Linked DNA regions of Homo sapiens: regions 1, 3 and 4 are each linked to region 2. The links are contacts of gene promoters, found by promoter capture Hi-C in human tissues and cell types (Jung and others, 2019). All regions are on one chromosome and are shown on one strand. The core of a region is centred on a gene start or on the middle of the fragment in contact, and the rest is flanking DNA. Distances in the headings are between cores, read along the strand shown.

The links. Contacts are between HindIII fragments. The study calls those that stand out against the background at their distance.
Region 1: a fragment that was not itself captured here is called in contact with the fragment with the promoter of HAUS3 in region 2 in 1 of the 25 tissues and cell types used here (hippocampus).
Region 3: the fragment with the promoter of SH3BP2 here is called in contact with the fragment with the promoter of HAUS3 in region 2 in 3 of the 25 tissues and cell types used here (dorsolateral prefrontal cortex, heart left ventricle and lymphoblastoid cells).
Region 4: the fragment with the promoter of TNIP2 here is called in contact with the fragment with the promoter of HAUS3 in region 2 in 5 of the 25 tissues and cell types used here (IMR-90 fibroblasts, liver, lymphoblastoid cells and 2 more).

Annotation. Positions count from the first base shown.
Region 1 is chr4:1,697,469-1,700,168 of GRCh38, reverse strand. It overlaps SLBP (stem-loop histone mRNA binding protein), which reads left to right. Exons shown (of 8, transcript NM_006527.4): 4 at 99-158; 5 at 468-605. Among named protein-coding and RNA genes, the nearest start is that of SLBP, 14 kb to the left of the region's middle. The HindIII fragment of the contact is 4,940 bases long and covers 1-2,700 here.
Region 2 is chr4:2,240,689-2,243,388 of GRCh38, reverse strand. It overlaps HAUS3 (HAUS augmin like complex subunit 3), which reads left to right and starts at 1,268. Exons shown (of 6, transcript NM_001303143.2): 1 at 1,268-1,338; 2 at 1,599-1,869; 3 at 2,296-2,700. The coding sequence starts at 2,443. POLN (DNA polymerase nu) reads left to right here and starts at 1,268. Exons shown (of 26, transcript NM_181808.4): 1 at 1,268-1,338; 2 at 1,599-1,869. It also overlaps the pseudogene COX6B1P5. RefSeq lists a silencer at 838-1,197 and enhancers at 1,878-1,977, 1,584-2,085. The HindIII fragment of the contact is 17,295 bases long and covers 1-2,700 here.
Region 3 is chr4:2,791,668-2,794,367 of GRCh38, reverse strand. SH3BP2 (SH3 domain binding protein 2) reads right to left here and starts at 1,283. Exons shown (of 13, transcript NM_001122681.2): 1 at 1,230-1,283. RefSeq lists a silencer at 1,216-1,565. The HindIII fragment of the contact is 44,064 bases long and covers 1-2,700 here.
Region 4 is chr4:2,754,947-2,757,646 of GRCh38, reverse strand. It overlaps TNIP2 (TNFAIP3 interacting protein 2), which reads left to right and starts at 1,311. Exons shown (of 6, transcript NM_024309.4): 1 at 1,311-1,633. The coding sequence starts at 1,358. RefSeq lists silencers at 849-988, 1,169-1,688, 1,709-1,768. The HindIII fragment of the contact is 11,459 bases long and covers 1-2,700 here.

The sequences.
Region 1 (2,700 bases), core at 63-2,562, 540 kb after region 2:
GATGGTGTGCCTGCGGGCATCAGGGTGGAGCTTCCTCAGACCTGGCTGCTTTATTTTTATATCTTTTTTAAAAACAGCAATATTTATTTTGCCCTCAGATATAAAAGGAAACTCCTCATCAATGACTTTGGAAGAGAGAGAAAATCATCATCAGGAAGGTAAAGGCTGTGTAAATGTTTCTTTTCTAATTTGATAGACCTGTAATTTGTTAAAAAAAAAAAATTGTGACTGTCAGAAATGCTGACTGTCGCAGTAGCATTTATTAATACCTTTTTCACTAATTTGAAATACTGTATCTGTTGTGTACTAAATTCCCATACATGCAGTCTCCGGACTATTTAGGATTCATATGGTTGGGAATCTGGAGTGAATCTTCCATTATTGTGTTTTGACATTTTCTTGGCTTACCTTACATACATGGTGATCTTAATTGCAGGGCTTATTCTGTTAATCTGTTGTTTTTTCAGTTCTGATTCAAAGGAGTCTATGTCTACTGTGCCGGCTGACTTTGAGACAGATGAAAGTGTCCTAATGAGGAGACAGAAGCAGATCAACTATGGGAAGAACACAATTGCCTACGATCGTTATATTAAAGAAGTCCCAAGGTAGTCTTGTTTCAGTGGCATGTCTTGAACAAGCTGTGTGGCATTGCGTTTCTAAAGAGTTGCTTAGATTGGGTAGTACAAATGATGCTGGGGATAGTTCACACCTGCTAAGAGCTATTTAATAGGGACTTACTGGGGCTTATGACGTAAATAAAGAATGGATTGGCAACTGGAAAACTAAAGACATGAAGATTTTAAAAATCATTTTCATATAATTTTGAATGTTAGATAACATTTTATTTCTTAGGAGTCAGCAATCATAGATGTAAGCTTATTAAAATACATGATGGGGAAAAATGAAGTTCAAGTTAAATATTGTAAAATTCTAATTGGAGAAAAAAAAATTGGCATTGCCCTATTGTCTTTAAGCAGCATGTTCTTGCCTATCCTGGTCCCTCAAACACACAGACACAGAAGGATATAAAGAAAGCTTTAGTGTTTTCCTGAACTTTTTGGCAGGATTGGGGTTGAAATTTACATTTCTGGGCCAGGTGCAATGGCTCATGCTTGTAATTCCAGCACTTTGGGAGGCCGAGAGGACTGCTTGAGGCCAGGAGACTAGCCTGGGCAATATAAGGAGACCTCATCTCTACAAAAAATTTAAAAATTAGCCAGGTGTGGTGGTTTGCACCTGTAGTCCCAGCTACTTGGGAGACAGGTGGGAGAACTGCTTCAGCCCAGGAATTCAACGTTACAGTGAACCATTAATCACACCACTGCACTCCAGCCTGGGCTGCAGAGTATGAGACTTTGTCTCTTAAAAAAAAAAATTTTACTTTTGGCTGAGTGCAGTGGCTCATGCCTGTAATCCCAGCACTTTGGGAGGCCGAGGAGTGCGGATCATGAGGTCAGGAGATCGAGACCACCCTGGCTAACACGGTGGAACCCCGTCTCTACTAAAAATACAAGAAATTTGCTGGGCGTGGTGGCACACATTTGTAGTCCCAGCTACTCGGGAGGCTGAGGCAGGAGAATCACTTGAACCTGGGAGGAGGAGGTTGCAGTGAGCCGAGATTGCACCACTGCACTCCAGCCTGGGTCACAGAGCAAGACTCCATCTCAAAAAAAACAATTTTTTTTTTTTTTTTTTACTTTTTTGGAACATAGCTGGCAAAGGAATAGTAAGATTCAATGTGATGGTGCTTTTTTTTTTCCCTCCTGACCGAGTCTTGCTGTTACCTAGGCTGAAGTGCAGTGTTATATCATGTCTCACTGTGTATTCATTTTTTTGAGACGGAATCTTGCTCTGTTGCCCAGGCTGGAGTGCAGTGGCGCAATTTCAACTCCACCTCTCGGGTTCAAGCGATTCTCCTGCCTCAGCCTCCACAGGCGCCTGCCACCACACTTGGTTAATTTTCGTATTTTCAGTAGAGATGGGGTTTTACCATATTGGCCAGGCTGGTCTCGCACTGCTGATCTCGTGATCCGTCTGTCTCTGCCTCCCACAGTGCTGGGATTACAGGGGTGAGCCACCACGCCCAACCATCATGGCTCACTGTAGTCTTAACTCCTGGCCTCAAGCAATCCTCCTACCTCAACCTCCTGAGTAGCTGGGACCAGCGGTGCATGCCGCCACACCTGGCTAAACTTTTAAATTTTTATAGAGATGGGAGTCTCCCTATGTCGCCCAGGCTGGTCTTGAACTCCTGGCCTCAAGTAGTCCTCCCAAAGTACTGTGATTACAAGCGTGAGCCACTGTGCCCAGCGGATAGTGATTTTTTTGAGACCGAGTTTCACTCTAGTCCAGGCTGGAGTACAATGGTGCAATCTTGGCTCACCGCAACCTCCGCCTCCCAGGTTCAAGCGATTCTCCTGCCTCAGCCTCCCAAGTAGCTGGAATTACAGGCATGCGCCACCATGCCTGGGCTAATTTTTTTGTATTTTTAGTACAGATGGTGTTTCTCCATGTTGGTCAGGCTGGTCTCGAACTCCTGACTTTGGGTGATCTGCCTGCCTCGGCCTCCCAAAGTGCTGGGATTACAGGTGTGAGCCACCGCACCCGGCCCGGATAGTGCTTTTTAATTTTTTAATTTTTTTAAACATATTTGTTCATTTTGTAGGATCTCAGTTGATTTTTTATTTATTTATTTATTTT
Region 2 (2,700 bases), core at 19-2,518:
TTTACCCATGACCAAAGCCCCTGCTAACCTGTGGAAGACTGAGGAGTGGCAAAGGATTTTTGTTTGGTAGAGATGCAAACGAATTCTGTCCAATAGAGAGGTCTGGTTTCACTGGGCTGTAGGGCATCAGCCAGATTCACATGAAATTTAGCAATCCCGTTTCAGTCATCTTTCACTGACTGCCATCCTCTTTGGAAATGGTGTACCATCCTCCTTGAGTTAAATATATCGATGTATTTAACTCAGGCCATTCCGTTTATTTCTAACATTTTGAAAAGGGAATTGTGGAGGAAGTCAGCTTTTTTTTTTTTTTTTTTTTTGAGACGGAGTCTTGCTCTGTCGCCCAGGCTAGAGTGCAGTGGCGTGATCTCGGCTCACTGCAACCTCCACCTCCTGGGTTCAAACGATTCTCCTGCCTCAGCCTCCCGAGTCGCTGGGATTACAGGCGCCCACCACCGCGCCCGGCTAATTTTTGTATTTTTTAGTAGAGATGGGGTTTCACCATCTTGGCCAGGCTGGTCTCGAACTCCTGACCTCATGATCCCCCCCCCCCCCCCCCCCGGCCTCCCAAAGTGCTGGGATTACAGGCATGAGCCACCGCGCCCGGCCAGAAGTCAGCTTTTACATAGTGTTCTGGTGAGGGATTAGAAATTAAGTGTTTTTGCAAAATAAAGTTCATTGTAAAAGACTCTAAGCGAACAATCCCTAACCCTTAAAATGTACCAGGCATTGGTCGGGCTGCTGTGAATGTTCCGGGAACTCGTCTCTCTCGGGGGCGAGCGCTATCACCGCCGGGCTCCAGCCTGTCTCCCAACCACCAACCTGCGCTGCTCTTTGTACCATTCAAAAGTGCCTTCAGAGGGTCTAGATTGAAGTACGGGGCAGGGCAGGCCTGAAGCACAACTGACGGCTCCGTTGAGAGCAGGCCCGCAGCTTCAGCTCCCCAGAGGGCGCCCCACCGCACCCCTCTGCACCCCTCTGCACCCCATTCATTGCCCAGGCTCCGCCCCCTGCCCAGGCCCCGCCCCTGTCCAGGCCCTGTCCCCGCCCTTCCCGGCCCAGACCCCGCCTCTCTCTGCCCTGCGCCCCGCCCAGGAGGCAGGATGCCCGCAGCGGCCGGGGGCCGAGCGCCGCCTGCTCAGCTCCACCCCATAGTCCAGCCTCGCCGACTCCGCCTCTTTTGACACTACGCCTGCGCAAACAGTCATCCCCCACGACCACGCCGTCGCCTTGTGCGCTTGCGCGCGTCCAGGCGCTCCCGTGAGGCAGTGCGAGGCGCGCGGGGCACGGAGGGCGGTGGCGGCGGGCTCCTGCGAGAAGCAAGCGGAACTTCCTGAGGTGACTGACGCGGGCCTCGGTTCTGGGCGCAGGGGTGTGGGGCTGGAGGAGTGGCCGCGATCCCCGTCTGCACCCAGGTGCCTCTTTTTTTTCCTGCGCTCCTGGGGGCTCCTTCCAGGTGCTCCAGCAGCTGCCCGGGGATCAGGGCCCGGTCCGCTGGGCGAGGAGCTGGGGCGGGGGCTGTGCGGGGCCTGTCACCCCCGTCTTCTGCAGCTCGGTGTCGACGGCGATTCGGTGGGCTTGTGCGTTTGTTTTGTCAGCGTGCTTAGGTGTCACAGCTGGGTGACCCTCCGAAGGAAGGTTTTGCCGCTGGCGCGTCTGGTGTATCGCGGCCTTGGGGCCGCGGATCCCTGGGGCTTGCCGCTGCCTCTGGGGTTCGCGCGGCCCTGGCGTCGGGGCTGCCTCAGCGCTGGCTGAAGGCCGGCCCGAAGCACCCTTAATTGTGGCCGCGCGCTTCCCTGCTGCTCCTGCTGTTCTCCGCGTCGCGGTGGTGGACTCTGGAGGTGGAGCCTTGCCCGGCGAGACGTTGAGGTAAATATTTAGTTGATCTTCAGAAGATGTGCCATGCTTATTTGCGTCTTCTTACGTACGGAGGGCAGGGAAGAGAGGCTGCCTAGCCTCCTGGTGGCTTGGGTTTGTTTGGATCCATTTATTTTGAATTAAAAACAAATGCTGCTCTATAAAGTGTAATGCATTTTAAACCATTTTATCTTTGGAAAAAAAGATAAAATGGATCCAAATAGATCCACTTTCTTGTTAATTACTTTTCGTTACTGTTGCGGTTTTCTGAGAACTAGCCTAATTGTTTCTGTTTCTCTTTATCATCATCAAACATTGCAGCTACGACTACCTGTCATTTATCCCGCTCTCGGATATCATGTGATATTTGTCTGTGTCTTCTTTTTAAAAACACTGTCGTCATATTTGTGGTCTAATACTTGTTTTCTTCCCCCCTAGGAGGAATCATTATAGATTCTAAAAATATATTTTCCCTTCTCTGTGGACTTGGTATAAAACGTAGCTTTTTTTCTGCTTGGATTTATTTTCTAAAAATCAACACCGTAAACCCATATCAGATACAACAAAATTGGGGTAGTTAAAACCATGAGTTGTGGAAATGAGTTTGTGGAAACATTAAAAAAAATTGGTTATCCCAAAGCTGATAATCTTAATGGAGAAGACTTTGACTGGTTGTTTGAGGGCGTTGAAGATGAATCGTTTCTGAAGTGGTTTTGTGGGAATGTGAATGAACAGAACGTGTTGTCTGAAAGAGAATTGGAAGCTTTTAGCATTCTTCAGAAATCAGGCAAGCCTATTCTAGAAGGGGCGGCATTGGATGAAGCTCTTAAAACGTGTAAAACT
Region 3 (2,700 bases), core at 34-2,533, 550 kb before region 2:
AAGAACCAGGAGGGGGTGGAGCCCAGCCCCTCCTCTGGTCCCACAGGGCCTGAGCCAGTGAGGGCAGGAGCTTGTCCAGGCTCATGGAGTTGGTGCAGGGCTGACCTGAACCCAGAGGCTTGCTTCGGCAAGGAGGAGGCTGTGGGCCCTGCCTTCAGGCGGTTGTGGAAACAATTCTACACATTGCATCACCGGCCCATGTCACCTGCAAGGCCACACACATGTCATCCAGGCAGGCTGTCCACCCCAGCAGCCCACACGGAGTACCCGCCCCTGGCCACAGCCAATTCGAAGGACTTAAGTGTGGCCACTAGACCAGGAGGCACAGCTGTCCCCAGTGTCAACAGATGAGCAAACTGAGGCACAGAGAGGGGATAGGAGGTGCTCACGGAAAGGAGCACCAGCAGAAGGCTCCCCACAGCAGGGCTCAGGCCCTCAATACCCCCAGGGAGCCGAGGCCCAGAGCAGCGGGAAAGTGCTGGGCTGCAGGGAGGCCAGCGTACAGGTGGAAGGGGCTGTCCCCGCCCCCTAACTCCTCCAGTCCCTCTGCCACCCCTGAGATTCCCTGTTGCCCATGAGAGTCTCAGACGCCCGGCTATCAGTCACTCACACTTCAGTGTGAATCAGCGCCAGTGGGCGGCTTTTCTTGCCCTCCGTGAAGCGCGGCCGCTGCAGAGGGAAGTTTGGATTCCGGGAAGGGCGGAGAGCGAGTGCCCGCCGCAGCCTTTGAGTCTTGTGGGGAGGGTCGCGTAAAGGGGCCCCGCCGCGGGGCCAGAGGGGCGCGAGGGGTGCGAAACAGACGCGTCGCACCGCCTCCCACCCCTGAGCCCCCGGCAAGGGACACCCGGCCCCCGCCCCGAAGCCGCGCTCCCTCGGGCACTGCCCGCCGTGCCCAGGCCCCGTGCGTCCTTTGGCAAGGACACGGAGGCCCCGGGGCCCGGGGGAGGCTGCTGCGCACCCGAGACCCCCGACACCCGCCCATACCTGCCGGGACCCTGAGACTCCCCCGAGACCTGCCAAGACCTGCCGGGACCCCTGAGACTCCCCGGAGACTCCCCCGAGACCCCCGAGACCCGCCGAGACCTGTCGGGACCCCGAGACTCCCCCGAGACCCCCGAGACCCGCCGAGAGCCCCCAGACCGCCAAGGCCCGCCGAGCCCCTTCCAGACGCGGAGACCGCCCCCCCGCGAGACCCCCGAGACCCGCCGAGACCCGCCGCCGAGGCTTACCCGCCGAGCGCTCTCCTGGCCCGCGGGCCCTGGGTCGAGGCGGCGGCTTGACTCGGCCGCCAGGCGCTCCCGCCCGCGGGACCCGCCGCCGCCGCAGCTCCGTCCCGCCCGCGCCCGCCCAGTCCGCCCTCCTCCTGGCCCCGCCCCGGCCCCGCCCCTCCCCGGCGGGTCCCGCAATCCTGGAGGTCCGAGCTGGGCGTGGGGCGGGGCCGGTACCTCAGGGTGGGCGGGGAACTGCACGTGGCCTCCGCGGCCCCGGGACGAGGCCCCTGGGGGGCGAAGACTGGCGTTGTCGCGGGCCTAGACGCCGGGTCCACAGTAGGTGCTTAGTTCTCGCCCGTGAGTGAGGTAGCGTGTCTGTCCCTCCTGCGTGTCCCTCCCAGTGACACCCCAGTGCCCAGCGACCCAGGTGGAAAGGGCGCTGTCCACCCCCCCAGCCCCGTGGTCCTGATCCTGGGCGGCCCCACCCCTGCCCCGTGAGTGCGACTTAGGCCCTGGCCAAGACAGGAGCAGGGGAGGTGGGGGAGGGCTTGCTGGGCACCAGGAAACCTTGTCTTTGTTTCCAAATGTCCTCCAGGGTACTTTTCAGGCACTTCCCAGGGGGACCTCGCCTCTTGGACCAGGTCTGGACTCCGGTGGCCCAGAGGTCGTCTTGGGGCTGGGAGGCACAGGAGACCGGGTGCTTTACACTTGGCCTCCTCTGAGGCTCCCTTTCCTCCACCATCACCCTCTCCCTAAGAGTAGGCCCAGATGCCTTGGTGTAAGGGCAGGGGCGAGAAGAGGAGGGGCTTCCTGGGAGGAAATGGCTTCCCTGGGGAGCTCTCAGGGCCAGGTAGGTGGAGGGAGCCGTGGAGAAAGTGAAGAGGCTGGGGAGACCAAGCTGGGCCTGCAGAGCTTGAGGGCGAGCGGACCCCCCACCAGTGCGGGAGTCAACTGCTTGGGGCGTGGGGGGACTCCTCCCCATGAGGAGTGGGGACTGGACCCCAGGTCCCAGAGCCCAGGAAGCTGTGAGTAGAGGAAGGACAGGATCTTGCTGGGAACCCAAGGGAGCTGGGGGTGGGTGGTGGTGACCTGGCCCTGTCCAGGCAGGCGGCCAAGGTCTGACCCTCTGTACTGAGCACAAGAGGCCAGAGTCCAATGACAGGGGCTGAATTGGCTGCTCCAAATCAGGCAGGGGCAGGGGTGTCCAGGGCTGGCCCTGCAGCAGGTGAAGGACTGGGTTTGGGTCCTACAGGTTGAAATACCTGAGGGCCTCCAGGAGACACAGCCAAACCAAGCGGGTTCTCAGGGTTGCAGCTGGACCGAGTGTGGGCCAAGTCACCGTCCACCTGTCCCAGAGCTGCCCAATAATGGGTCCCAAGCCTCAGAAAGGGGATCCCTGGCTGCAATAGCCCTCCTCCCTGCTGGAGAGACACACTTGGGATCAGAGAGGTTAACTGGGGAGGGGAGTAAGTGGGAGGAGTCAGAAAAC
Region 4 (2,700 bases), core at 62-2,561, 510 kb before region 2:
CTGTGTAGCCCAATGTCCGGGCCATAAGCACTTGGGTGGCTCTGGCTTTGCTTATAGGCTTGTCTGATTCTACAAGCTTGTGTTTTCCCAGGCTCAGCTCAGGCTTGGCTGTGGATCACATAAGGGAAGAAAGTCAAGAAGCTGCTCAGGGGCGGAGCCTGTGGGCAAGTGCACACACAGGGAAGACCCCTGCCCTATCCTGAGTAGGGAACCTTGGAAAGACCCCATGTGTGCTTGGGCATCATTGTGGGGAAGACTGGGCTGTGGAAAAACACTAGCGTTTGTCTGGGAATTTTGGGGAAGGAAAGGGATGGAAAAGCGAAAGGGTGGGAAGGGGCTGGTTTCCTGCTGCTTCTGCTATATAAGAACAGCATCTAGCAGGAAGGTTGTCCCGTGGGCCCATACTAGCCACCTTACAAAGCAGCGTCTGCAGTGGCTGACGCCTGTAATCCCAGCACTTTGGGAGGCTGAGGCCGGTGGATCTACCTGAGGTCAGGAGTTCAAGACCAGCCTGGCCAACATGGTGAAACACCATCTCTACTAATAATACCAAAAAATTAGCAGGGCATGGTGGCGGGCGCCTGTAATCCCAGCTACTCAGGAGGCTGAGGCAGGAGAATCGCTTGAAACTGGGAGGCGGAGGTTGTAGTGAGCCGAGATCGCGCCATTACACTCCAGCCTGGGCAACAGAGCGAAACTCCGTCTCAAAAAGAAGAAAAAAAAGGAAAGAAAAAAGAAAGCGGCGTGCGGGGCAGGGGGTTGGAGCTCTTTCTGGGCTCAGTGTCCCCAGGTGACGGAACACATGCCACGTGCTTGGTGCGCTGCGAGCTCAGCTCCTGGAGCTTCTGTTGCTGCTGTGGCCGCAAGGCCTGGACCCTCGCGGGGAGATTCAGACCCACACTTAGCTCCAGAGCTTGGGGGTTGTCGTTAAGCCCTTCCTTTCCATCAGAGGCTGATGAATCCCCAAACTCCTGGGCTGAGTTCGACTCTCCGACAACTCCTCAGAGGCGGATGTTTGGGGCCACTGGAATAAGCCCAGCACCAGCTGGGGTGTGGACAGCCTCGGGGGCCAGGCCAACTCTCCCGGACGGGTGCGGACGGCAGGGGCGGGGCCGGGCTGTAGGCGGTGGGAGGGGTGGGGCCGGGCGAGAAGGGGCTGGGCGGGCTGCCGTCGGGCGGGGCTGCGCGGGGAAGGGCGGGGCTGCGCGGGGGGCGGGGCTGCGTGGGGGAGGGCGGGGCCGGGCTGTTGTGGGTGGGCGGGGCGCACCGGGGAAAGTTCCGGGAAGGGCGGCAGCCGGCGGGGCCCGGGCGCGGAAGTTGCCGGCGGCCGCGCGGCCTCCCGGGCGGGCCTACAGCCATGTCCCGGGACCCGGGGTCGGGCGGCTGGGAGGAGGCCCCGCGCGCAGCTGCCGCGCTCTGCACCCTGTACCACGAGGCCGGACAGCGGCTGCGCCGCCTGCAGGACCAGCTCGCTGCCCGCGACGCCCTCATCGCTCGCCTCCGCGCCCGCCTGGCCGCGCTGGAGGGGGACGCCGCGCCGTCCCTAGTGGACGCGCTGCTGGAGCAGGTTGCGCGCTTCCGGGAGCAGCTGCGAAGGCAGGAGGGCGGCGCCGCCGAGGCCCAGATGCGCCAGGTACGAGGGCGGGTACCAGAGGAGCTGCGGGAGCGAGAGTGCGTGTGGCGGCCGCCGGGTCCTGGGTGGGTGAGCGAGCGGGCCCCGGGTCCTGAGGGGTTGAGGGGGTACTGGGTCCTGGGGTTGAGTTGGCCTCGGGTCCTGAGGGGTTGGGGGAGCACCAGGTCCTGGGAGTTGAGGGGGTGCCGGGTCCTGGGGGTGAGGGGGCCCCGGCTCCTGAGGGGTTGGGGGAGCATCAGGTCCTGGGGGTTGAGGGGGTGCCGGGTCCTGGGGTTGAGGGACACTAGGTCCTGGGGGTAAGGGGCCGTCGGGTCCTGGGGGTGATAGGGCAACAGCTTCTGGGGGGTGAGGGGACCCTGGGTCCTAGGGGAGAGAGGGGGACCAGGTCCTGAGTGGGATAAGGGGACACCACGGGCTGAGGTGTGCTGGGTCCTGGGGGGTTTGAGGCGTCACCAGGTGCTGGTGGAGGTGAGGGGGCTCTGGGTCCTGCGGGGTGAGGGTGCAAGGTTCTGAAGGGGATAAGCGAATGCTGGATCCTGGGGGGTTGGGAGGGCACTGGGTCCTGGGGGATGGTGAGGAGGCACTGGGTTCTGAGGAGGGGGGTTGGTGCAGTTCTTGGGTTCTGTGTGTGTGTGGTGTATGTTCAGGTGGGCTCTTAGGGGTATTTTGAGGTTCGTGTGTGGGAACACATTCCGAGGGGGGTGTGTGTATGCTGTGTGTATTCTGTGTGTATTGTGTAGTGTGTATGTTCCGGTTGGTTCTTAGGGGTGTTTTGAGGTGTGTGTGCGGGAGACACATTCTGAGGGGTGTGTATGGTGTGTGTGTGTACGCACACATGTGTGTCTTGGGTCCAAGGTCGTGTACTCATATTGTGTTCTAGAGTCCCTTCCAGCCCTCACCCATGCATGTGTCTTTCACTAGTGGCGCTTCAACTCTATGCTGGGAGCAATGGCAAATGCAGCCCGTGTCTGATAAAGGACACAAATCCTAGGCTGGGTGCAGTGGCTCACGCCTGTAATCCCAGTACTTTCGGAGGCAAGGCGGGCAGATTGCCTGAGCCCAGGAGT